2 separate regions of the Homo sapiens genome follow, and region 2 is linked to region 1. The links are contacts of gene promoters, found by promoter capture Hi-C in blood cells and fetal thymus (Javierre and others, 2016). All regions are on one chromosome and are shown on one strand. The core of a region is centred on a gene start or on the middle of the fragment in contact, and the rest is flanking DNA. Distances in the headings are between cores, read along the strand shown.

Region 1 (4,171 bases), core at 172-2,671:
CCGGTTATCAATTAATGATGCACCTGACATACACCCTTCTAGTTTCATAAAAATCACCTCATTAGGCCGGGCGTGGTGGCTCACGCCTGTAATCCCAGCAATTTGGGAGGCCCAGGGGGTGCAGATCCCTCGAAACCAGCCTGGGCAACCTGGCGAAACCCCGTCTCTACCAAAAATACAAAAAAAAAAAAAAAAAAAAGCAGGTGCTGGCTGAGGTGGGAGGATCACCGGGGCCCCTGAGTTCAAGGCTGCAGTAAGCCGTGATCGCGCCACTGCACTTCAGCCTGGGCGACAGAGTGAGACCCTTTCTCAAAACGAACACACACAACAACACAGTAACAACACACCAACCCCCAAAACATCTTATTAAACTCTGTGGATCTACTCCATTTAAACCTAATTGTTTCAGGAAATAGTCTAAAAACATTTTTTTGTCCTGGAATGTAATGTGTATGTAGCCTCAGGGAATAACTCAGTTTATCAGGTTCTTGGCTGTTTTTCCACAGGTCCAAAAGGATAAATGGATAAAGTGATGCTGAAATAACTTAGAGAACCCGTATTCCAACGCTTCTATTTTAAAACAGTGAAGCAGTTTTTAAAATAGAAAAGTATCTACAGTTTTGCTTTCAAGCAAATAGCGTTAACGGAATCATTGCTATTCAAAACTATTTTTGAAGTATCGGTGTACATTTAAAAAAAATAATTTTTAAAAAAGAAAGCTGTCGTATTCTGGATTCCGCAACCCCCCCACCCCGCCTCGCCACTCGTCGCCCTCCCTCCACCTCCACCCTCCCATGGCTTAAGTCGCATAGCTGAAAGGATTTTGCTCATTTTTTCCAAAACACTTCACGTCTGGGTAGTAGCCAATCATGGAAAGTTTCAAGCAAATGTTACATTTGGGAGAGGGATGAAGCTTGTCCGGGGCTGCTCTCGGAGGAGTCGCCAGACGCCCTGACCTGGGGGCCAGATGCGAGCTGGGATCGGCTGAGTTCCGACAGCTCGGCCAGACTCAGCCCTGCCAAACCTGCTGACCTCACTGCCCTCGGCTGCGGGGGATCTCGCCCATGAGTCTCCCCAACAGCTCGAATTCCCAGAGTGGAGGAGCCCACTGCTTCATAAATGCGAGAACCCAGAGCCCCTAGTACCCAACTAGGCTAGCCTCGGAGTTGGCACGGCGTGCAGAAAGTGGCTACTGAGCAGCCGGGCCTGGCTCACCCGCTTCACACGTCAGTTTGACTCCTCTCCCCGCCCCCCACCAATCCCCCGCCCTACTCTCCGCGCACCCAGAGCCGAGAGAAATTTGACTGCCCTAATCGCCAATCAAAAGAGAGGTCGAGGATTTGAGCCAATCGCAGCGGGCGAAAGGGGCGGGCCGTCGGCGAGCGCTGAAGGTCTCTAGCCCTCCCCTGCGCTTTAGCCTCAGTGCGGAGCCTTAGGCGGAGCGAAGAGAACCGGTCGCGGCAATCCTAGCGCGCAGCAGCAGCAGCAGCAGCAGCAGCAGCAGCAGCAGCAGCAGCAGCACCCGCATCCGCTGCGGGAGTCCGAGCCGGAACCACACCCAAGTAGCTGCCCTTTCCTCTTCTGTCATCTCACCGCCCCACCACAGACCGCGTTCCCCGAGGAAACCGGCCGCCCACGCCCGGAGCATCCTCCCCTGTTGAGCGGGCGCTGACGGACCCGGCGGCATGATGCGGCTGCGAGGCTCGGGGATGCTGCGGGACCTGCTCCTGCGGTCGCCCGCCGGCGTGAGCGCGACTCTGCGGCGGGCACAGCCCTTGGTCACCCTGTGCCGGCGTCCCCGAGGCGGGGGACGGCCGGCCGCGGGCCCGGCTGCCGCCGCGCGACTCCACCCGTGGTGGGGCGGGGGCGGCTGGCCGGCGGAGCCCCTCGCGCGGGGCCTGTCCAGCTCTCCTTCGGAGATCTTGCAGGAGCTGGGCAAGGGGAGCACGCATCCGCAGCCCGGGGTGTCGCCACCCGCTGCCCCGGCGGCGCCCGGCCCCAAGGACGGCCCCGGGGAGACGGACGCGTTTGGCAACAGCGAGGGCAAAGAGCTGGTGGCCTCAGGTGAAAAGTGAGTGTCTCCGCGAGGCGCAGGAGGCCTCGTTCCTTTCGGGGCCCGGGCTCAGGCTGTGTGGGGCCCTGCGGTGGGGCGGGATAGGAGCCGAGGGTCTAGAAAAGAGAAAGAAAGAGGTGCCGGGCGGCCTGCGCCGTCTGCGCCATGTGATTAGGCCCGGCCCCGCCCGCGCCTTCCCCGCCCGCAACCCTCCGCCAGGCACCCACTTCCCTTCTCCGCCCCCGGCGGGGGTCGCCCTGGTGGGGCCGCGGTGGGGCCTGATGGGCTCGCCTGGCGTCCCCAGCGCCAGAGAGGCCGCTCCCCTGCCCGCGCTGCGTGCTCAGCTCCCTGGCTTGCGGCTGCAGCGCCTGGCCGCCCGCCCCAGCCATTCGTGGGCGATGCTGCACGAACATCTCCACCGAGTGACATTTAGGAGTTGGGCGTTCAGCAGAGCCTTTACCTTCCTGACTTGTCGCTTTTCCTGGCTCGTTTCCGCTCTGCCTGCCCTCCCTTGGTTTCTGCCATCATCCGGTTGGAAGCCAGATGTGACAGAGAGCTCTTTATATTTCGGGAGTGGCTACCTCAGGCACGTGTAGAGCCATCTGGGGCACCGGAAACAATGTTTCAGAAGTGAGATTAGGAGGAATCCGGTCATGTGGCCGAGAAGATGGGGCACGCAGTATAGACCACCTGTTTGCATAAGGGACCAGCTTTGGCTTGTCAGGTCTTCCGTGAGATGGGGAGATTTTTAGAAATAAAAGTTAAATAGCCAAGATGAAATGTGACGTAATACACTAACTCAGTGAAAAATCTGAGTTGAGTAGGTTTTGTGACTTCATTGTGATAGGATGTTGACTCATCCTGTATGTGTACGGCACAGTAGTTTAGTCTTAAAGCAAAACTGGTTTTTCTTAAACAATATGCAAAGCAGTCTCCTATATATTTTTGTCTTGTGTAATACAAATGGACCACTTTGTTTTCCCAAAATGGGTAAAAATTTACGGATCTGCTTTCATTATACCTTACTCTTTTTCTGGCTTTGTACGCTGACACTCTAACCTGTTTTGCTTCCCTTTTATTTCTGCTGCTATTTCCAGCTCTAGAGTTCCTTAAGTCAAACTGAAAGTGAGAACATTGTTATAATTTCAATCTCACGCCTGCTTGATGTTTTCCTGTAATTGAAGTTGGGACCTTCCAGAAACTTTTCTAAAGTTCTTCTCCCAGACTGAAAAAGATTATTTGAAAAAAATCACTTGATGATGGGCGAAATTTGTGGTATTTTGTGATGTTGGTTTTGTGCCACAAAATAGCGTCCTGACCATGGACAGGTTATTTAATATCTTGGGTTAGATGACTTAAATCCTTTCAAGTTCTAAAAAGCTATACTTCTGTTAAATTTGTACTTCTCTCATGTTTTAGGGACTAGAATGATAATTTAATCTCATCTGGGACTCACTTTTACTTTAACATCATCCGGTTTACCAAGGAAGTAACGAGTTTACATGCAAGTGCCCAAGGTACAGAATTGCAAAATGCAGTCACAACCGTTTAAAAGTTCATCTTAAAGGCTACAAGATGGGAACTGCATTCTAGTAAAATTATGTCTTCAGGTCTGTGTCTCTGCAGTGGCTCTAGTGCCTCTCTTTTTTTTCCTCTTTTGTCAAACAGGAAATTGAGCTTCTTCTGTGATTCACTTGTCCAGAAGTTTCTGGTTTCATTGCCTTTTTAATAAAAAATCACCTTTTAGCAAGGGCCTCAAGGTTGTGAAGAAAGTTTTTTAATTTGGTTAAAGTTTCTATTTCCTTAATGATCTGGTTTCCAAATGTAGCTTTCCCTCTTTGGCTCCTTTCATTTTGCCTTTATGTGACAAACATTTCTCTTATCCTGGGAGGTAAGCTCCCAGTTGATCCTGTTATCCTTTCTAATGCTTAGCCTGCAAAGCATAGGTCATCCCTCAGTCAGCAGTCCACCTGGTATGCTAGCACTCACTCAGGACTGTGCCAGATTTTATGTAGTATTATTAAAAGAAATAACCATGAGAAAATTAAATTAACATTTTGTAAAAGGCTTAGAACAATATTTGGCGTGTGTTAAATGACACATAACTATTTATTAAAT
Region 2 (4,268 bases), core at 824-3,323, 6.6 Mb after region 1:
CTGCAACATCTGCCTCCCGGGTTCAAGTGATTCTACTGCCTCAGCCTCTTGAATAGCTGGGATTATAGGCACCCGCCACTGCGCCCAGCTGATTTTTGTATTTTTAGTAGGGATGGGGTTTCACCATGTTGGCAAGGCTGGTCTTGAACTCCTGACCTCAGGTGATCCTCCTGCCTCGGCCTCCCAAAGAGCTAAGATTACTGGCGTGAGTGACTGCAGCCAGCCAATTTTTGTATTTTTTGTAGAGACTGGGTTTCACTATATTGCCGAGACTGGTCTCAAACTCCTGGAGTCAAGTGATCCTCCCTGCTTGGCCTCCCAAGGTGCTGGAATTACAGGTACACAATTTGTTTTTTAGTGAATGGTGTATGTATCTGACTTTCTTTTTTCAGAGATGGGGTCTCACTGTGCTCTCCAGGCAGTTTTTGCTCTCCTGAGCTCAAGCAATATTCCTGCCTCACCCTCCAGAGAAGCTAGGACTACTTTATTTTTTTAATCAATGAGTAGCTTGTTGTCACAACTTTACTTACTGGATTATCCATTCTTCTCCCTGCACACCACTCCCCGACCTCCCTTCTCTCTATGCCCAGAAATCAGAGATGTTGCCTTTATCATATACGAAATTTCTAAATATGCCTATTCATGGGTTTAATAATTTGTTCCATTGACCTCCCTATTCCATCACATTGCTTTCAATGTAAATAGCTTTATATTTAAGTTTGACATCTGATAAGGCAAGTCCTCCCTGTACCTATTCACCTGCCTGAGAGTATGTTCTTTGTTCCTATATGAGCCGCCAGCTTGTTCTTCAGTGTTATACCAAGTCATGCTTCCTCCAGCAAGTTAATTACTGTTTTCACTGCACCCACACAAAAATGGAGTTTTGAACTTTTGACTTATTTGTGTGACGAGTATTTAAATCCAATCCCTTCCCTTCCCTTCCTTTTCTTTTTTTTTTAGAAGGAGTTTCGCTCTTGTTGCCCAGGCTGGAGTGCAATGGCACGATCTCGACTCACTGCAACCTCCGCCTCCCGGGTTCAAGCGATTCTCCTGCCTCAGCCTCCTGAGTAGCTGGAATTACAGGCATGTGCCACCACACTTGGCTAATTTTTTTTGTACTTTTAGTAGAGATGGGGTTTCACCATGTTGGTCAGGCTGGTCTTGAACTCCTGACCTCAAGTGATCCACCCACCTCAGCCTCTCAAAGTCCTGGGACTATAGGCATGAGCCACCACACCCAGCTTAAGTATATTTTCCTTTACTCTCAAGCAACCTCTATGAGAGAGCCCAATCAATCCCAGCTCTTGTCCTGTGTTGCTTACATACTAGTTCTGCTACATTTGACAAATTACCTAACCCCTCTTAGCTTATGAATGAACTGCAAAACAAGGGCATTAGATTTGCCTCTTAACGTTTTGAGTCAAGCCTGTTATTTTGTTGTTAAACTTTTATTTATTTAAAAATAAATAATATGTTCATGTAAAAATTTAAAATTATAGACACTGAAAAGAATGCTCTCTATCCTTGTCCCCCAGCCACCCAGTCCCATCCTTGGAAGTAACTAGTATAATTTTTGTATTCTTCCTTTAAGGTGTTTTATGTATATACACATATATGTAAATGTGTACTATATATGTACATATCTTATGTATATAAAATATATATTCATTTTTTCTTTTTCAAAAAATAATATTCCATACATAACATTTGACACCTTGCTTTTTTACATTAACAATTGGTCTCTGGGATTAATCTATAGATAAAGACACTTTAAGACTGTATAATGTTCAATTATATGGATAAGCCATAATTTATTTCAGGATGCACCCCCAGCAATGATAGATATTTAAGTTATTCTAACCTTTTTCTATTAGAAACACTTCTGCAATGAATAAATGTATGCATAACTAAATATGTACATTTGAACAAGCATATCTATAAGATAAATTCCTATAGAACTGCTACGTCAAAGGGTCTGTGAATTTTAATCATGCATGTACGCAGATACAGACATGGATCTCCAAGTTGTCCTTCATTGAACTCCCATCAGTTTTATTTATTTATTTATTTATTTATTTATTTATTGACACAGAGTTTCAGTCTTATTGCCCAGGCTGGAGTGCAGTGGCACGATCTTGGCTCACTGCAACCTCCACCTCCCAAGTTCAAGTGATTCTCCTATCTCAGCCTCCTGAGTAGCTGGGATTACAGGTGCTCGCCACCACGCCTGGCTAATTTTTGTATTTTTAGTAAAGATGAGGTTTCACCATGTTGACCAGGCTGGTCTCAAACTCCTGATCTCAGGTGATCCACCCGCCTCCAAAGTGCTGGGACTACAGGCATGAGTCACTGCGCCCAGCCAAAAGGTCCATGAATTAACAGTCCTACTAGCAATGTATTTTTTTTCTTCTTACTCTCTGTAATGCAGGATGTTATAAAGTTCTTATTTTGCCAATCTGATAATTTTACTCTTTATCATGATGAATGAGGATGAGCATTGTATGTGTTTAAGACTCTTTTTTTTTTTGAGACAGGTTCTTGTCTGTCGCCCAGGCTAGAGTGCAGTGGCACCATCAGAGGCTCACTGCAGCCTTGACATCCTGGGCTCAGGTGATCCTCTCACCTCAGCCTACCGAGCAGCCGGGACTACAGATGCATGCTACCACGCCCAGCTAATATTTGTAGAGACAGGGTTTTGCCATGTTGCTCAGCGTGGTCTTGAACTCCTGGACTCAAGTGATCTGCCCACCTCAGCCTCTCAAAGTGCTGAGATTACAGGCATGAGCCACCTTGCTTACCCTTGTTAACTGGTTATTCCTATTCACTTAATATCTTCTGCCTATTTTTTGACTGAGTGCTTGATCTTTTATGACTTCTATTTATTAAAGAAACTAGTTCTTTGTGTTTTTTTTCCCTCTAGTTTGTCATTTGGGTTTTGATTTTGTTTATGCCTTGCACTTGTAGAAAGTCATTTTGGTGTATTTGAATTATTAAATGTTTTTCTTTATGCCTTCTGGGTATGACGTTAAACTCTGAAAAGTCTTCTCCAAAACTTAAAGTTTCTTCCACGGTTTCTTTAGGTATTTTTATAGTTTGGGTTTTTCTTTAAAAAAAAAACAACAGATTTTGATTTTGGCTCCATCTGTAGATTTTCCTGTTAAAAGATATAAGAAATGTTTAAAATTCCCCTACCATCTTATAGATTAAGCCTAAGTCTTTAAGACACTTAAAATTTCGCTTGCGAAATGCCCTTTCAGTCTCATTTAGCCTGAAGACATGACTTGGAAAAACATCAATGGTTATTTACTTACCTGGCTTGAATGTCAGTTCAAAAGGCTAGTTTATTATAGTATTTTTAAGTCACGCATTTTTTGAATATGGGCTAGGCACTGTTCTAGGCACTGGATATACAGGGATGAATAAGATCGGGGAAGCACACAGTAAACAACTAAATTAATAGCATGATTTTAGATACAGATTGGTGTTATCAAGAAAATAAAGACAGACTGGGCACAGTGGCTCACACCTGTAATCCCAGCACTTTAGGAGGCTGAAGTGAGGATCACTTGAGCCTAGGAGGTTGAGGCTGTAGTGAGTGGTGATCATGCCACTACACTCCAGCCTGGGTGAGAGCATAAGACACTGTCTCAAAGGGGAAGAAAAAGGGTGAAGCCCAGTGTCTCACACCTGTAATACCAGCATTTTGAGAGGCCAAGGCAGGAGGATCCTTTGAGGCCAGACGTTTGAGACCAGCCTGGGCAACAAAGTGAGACAATCTCTTAAAAAAAAAAAAAAAAAGCTGGGCGTGGTGGCTCACGCCTGTAATCCCAACACTTGGGAGGCCGAGGCGGGTGGATCACAAGGTCAGGAAATCGAGACCATCCTGGCCAACGTGGTGAAACCCCGTCTCTACTAAAATATAATGGTGCACGCCTGTAGTCCCAGCTACTCTGGAGGCTGAGGCAGGGGAATTGCTTGAACCCGGGAGGTGGAGGTTGCAGTGAGCTAAGATCACGCCACTGCACTCCAACCTGGCGATAGAGTGAGACTCTGTCTCAAGAAAAAAAAAAAACAAAAAAACAGACAGAGAATAATGTTCAAATAATACGTTGAAGATGTATGAAACCATACATAGGCACTGACTTGTTCAACTGTGAATATACATTCCCATGCTTCCCTGCTGCCTCAACTTTGCTCGGCTTGTAATGAAATCTCCTGTAGCTCTGCACATAAATGCTATCCACACTTTAAGACACATGACAACTACA

Evidence for each region. Contacts are between HindIII fragments. The CHiCAGO score rates a contact against its expected background, and 5 or more counts as called.
Region 2: a fragment that was not itself captured here is called in contact with the fragment with the promoter of GLS in region 1 in 1 of 17 cell types (total B cells); the score reaches 6.3 in total B cells.

What each region holds. Positions count from the first base shown.
Region 1 is chr2:190,879,400-190,883,570 of GRCh38, forward strand. GLS (glutaminase) reads left to right here and starts at 1,422. Exons shown (of 18, transcript NM_014905.5): 1 at 1,422-2,071. The coding sequence starts at 1,686. It overlaps LOC124906110 (a long non-coding RNA gene), which reads right to left and starts at 2,589. Exons shown (of 2, transcript XR_007087791.1): 1 at 2,514-2,589; 2 at 1-2,169. RefSeq lists enhancers at 810-949, 2,346-3,545, 2,710-2,899 and silencers at 1,220-1,479, 1,820-1,879, 1,930-2,019, 2,080-2,389. The HindIII fragment of the contact is 8,795 bases long and covers 912-4,171 here.
Region 2 is chr2:197,507,894-197,512,161 of GRCh38, forward strand. All of the region lies in intron 2 of HSPE1-MOB4 (HSPE1-MOB4 readthrough), which reads left to right. Among named protein-coding and RNA genes, the nearest start is that of MOB4, 6.0 kb to the right of the region's middle. The HindIII fragment of the contact is 5,819 bases long and covers 1-4,268 here.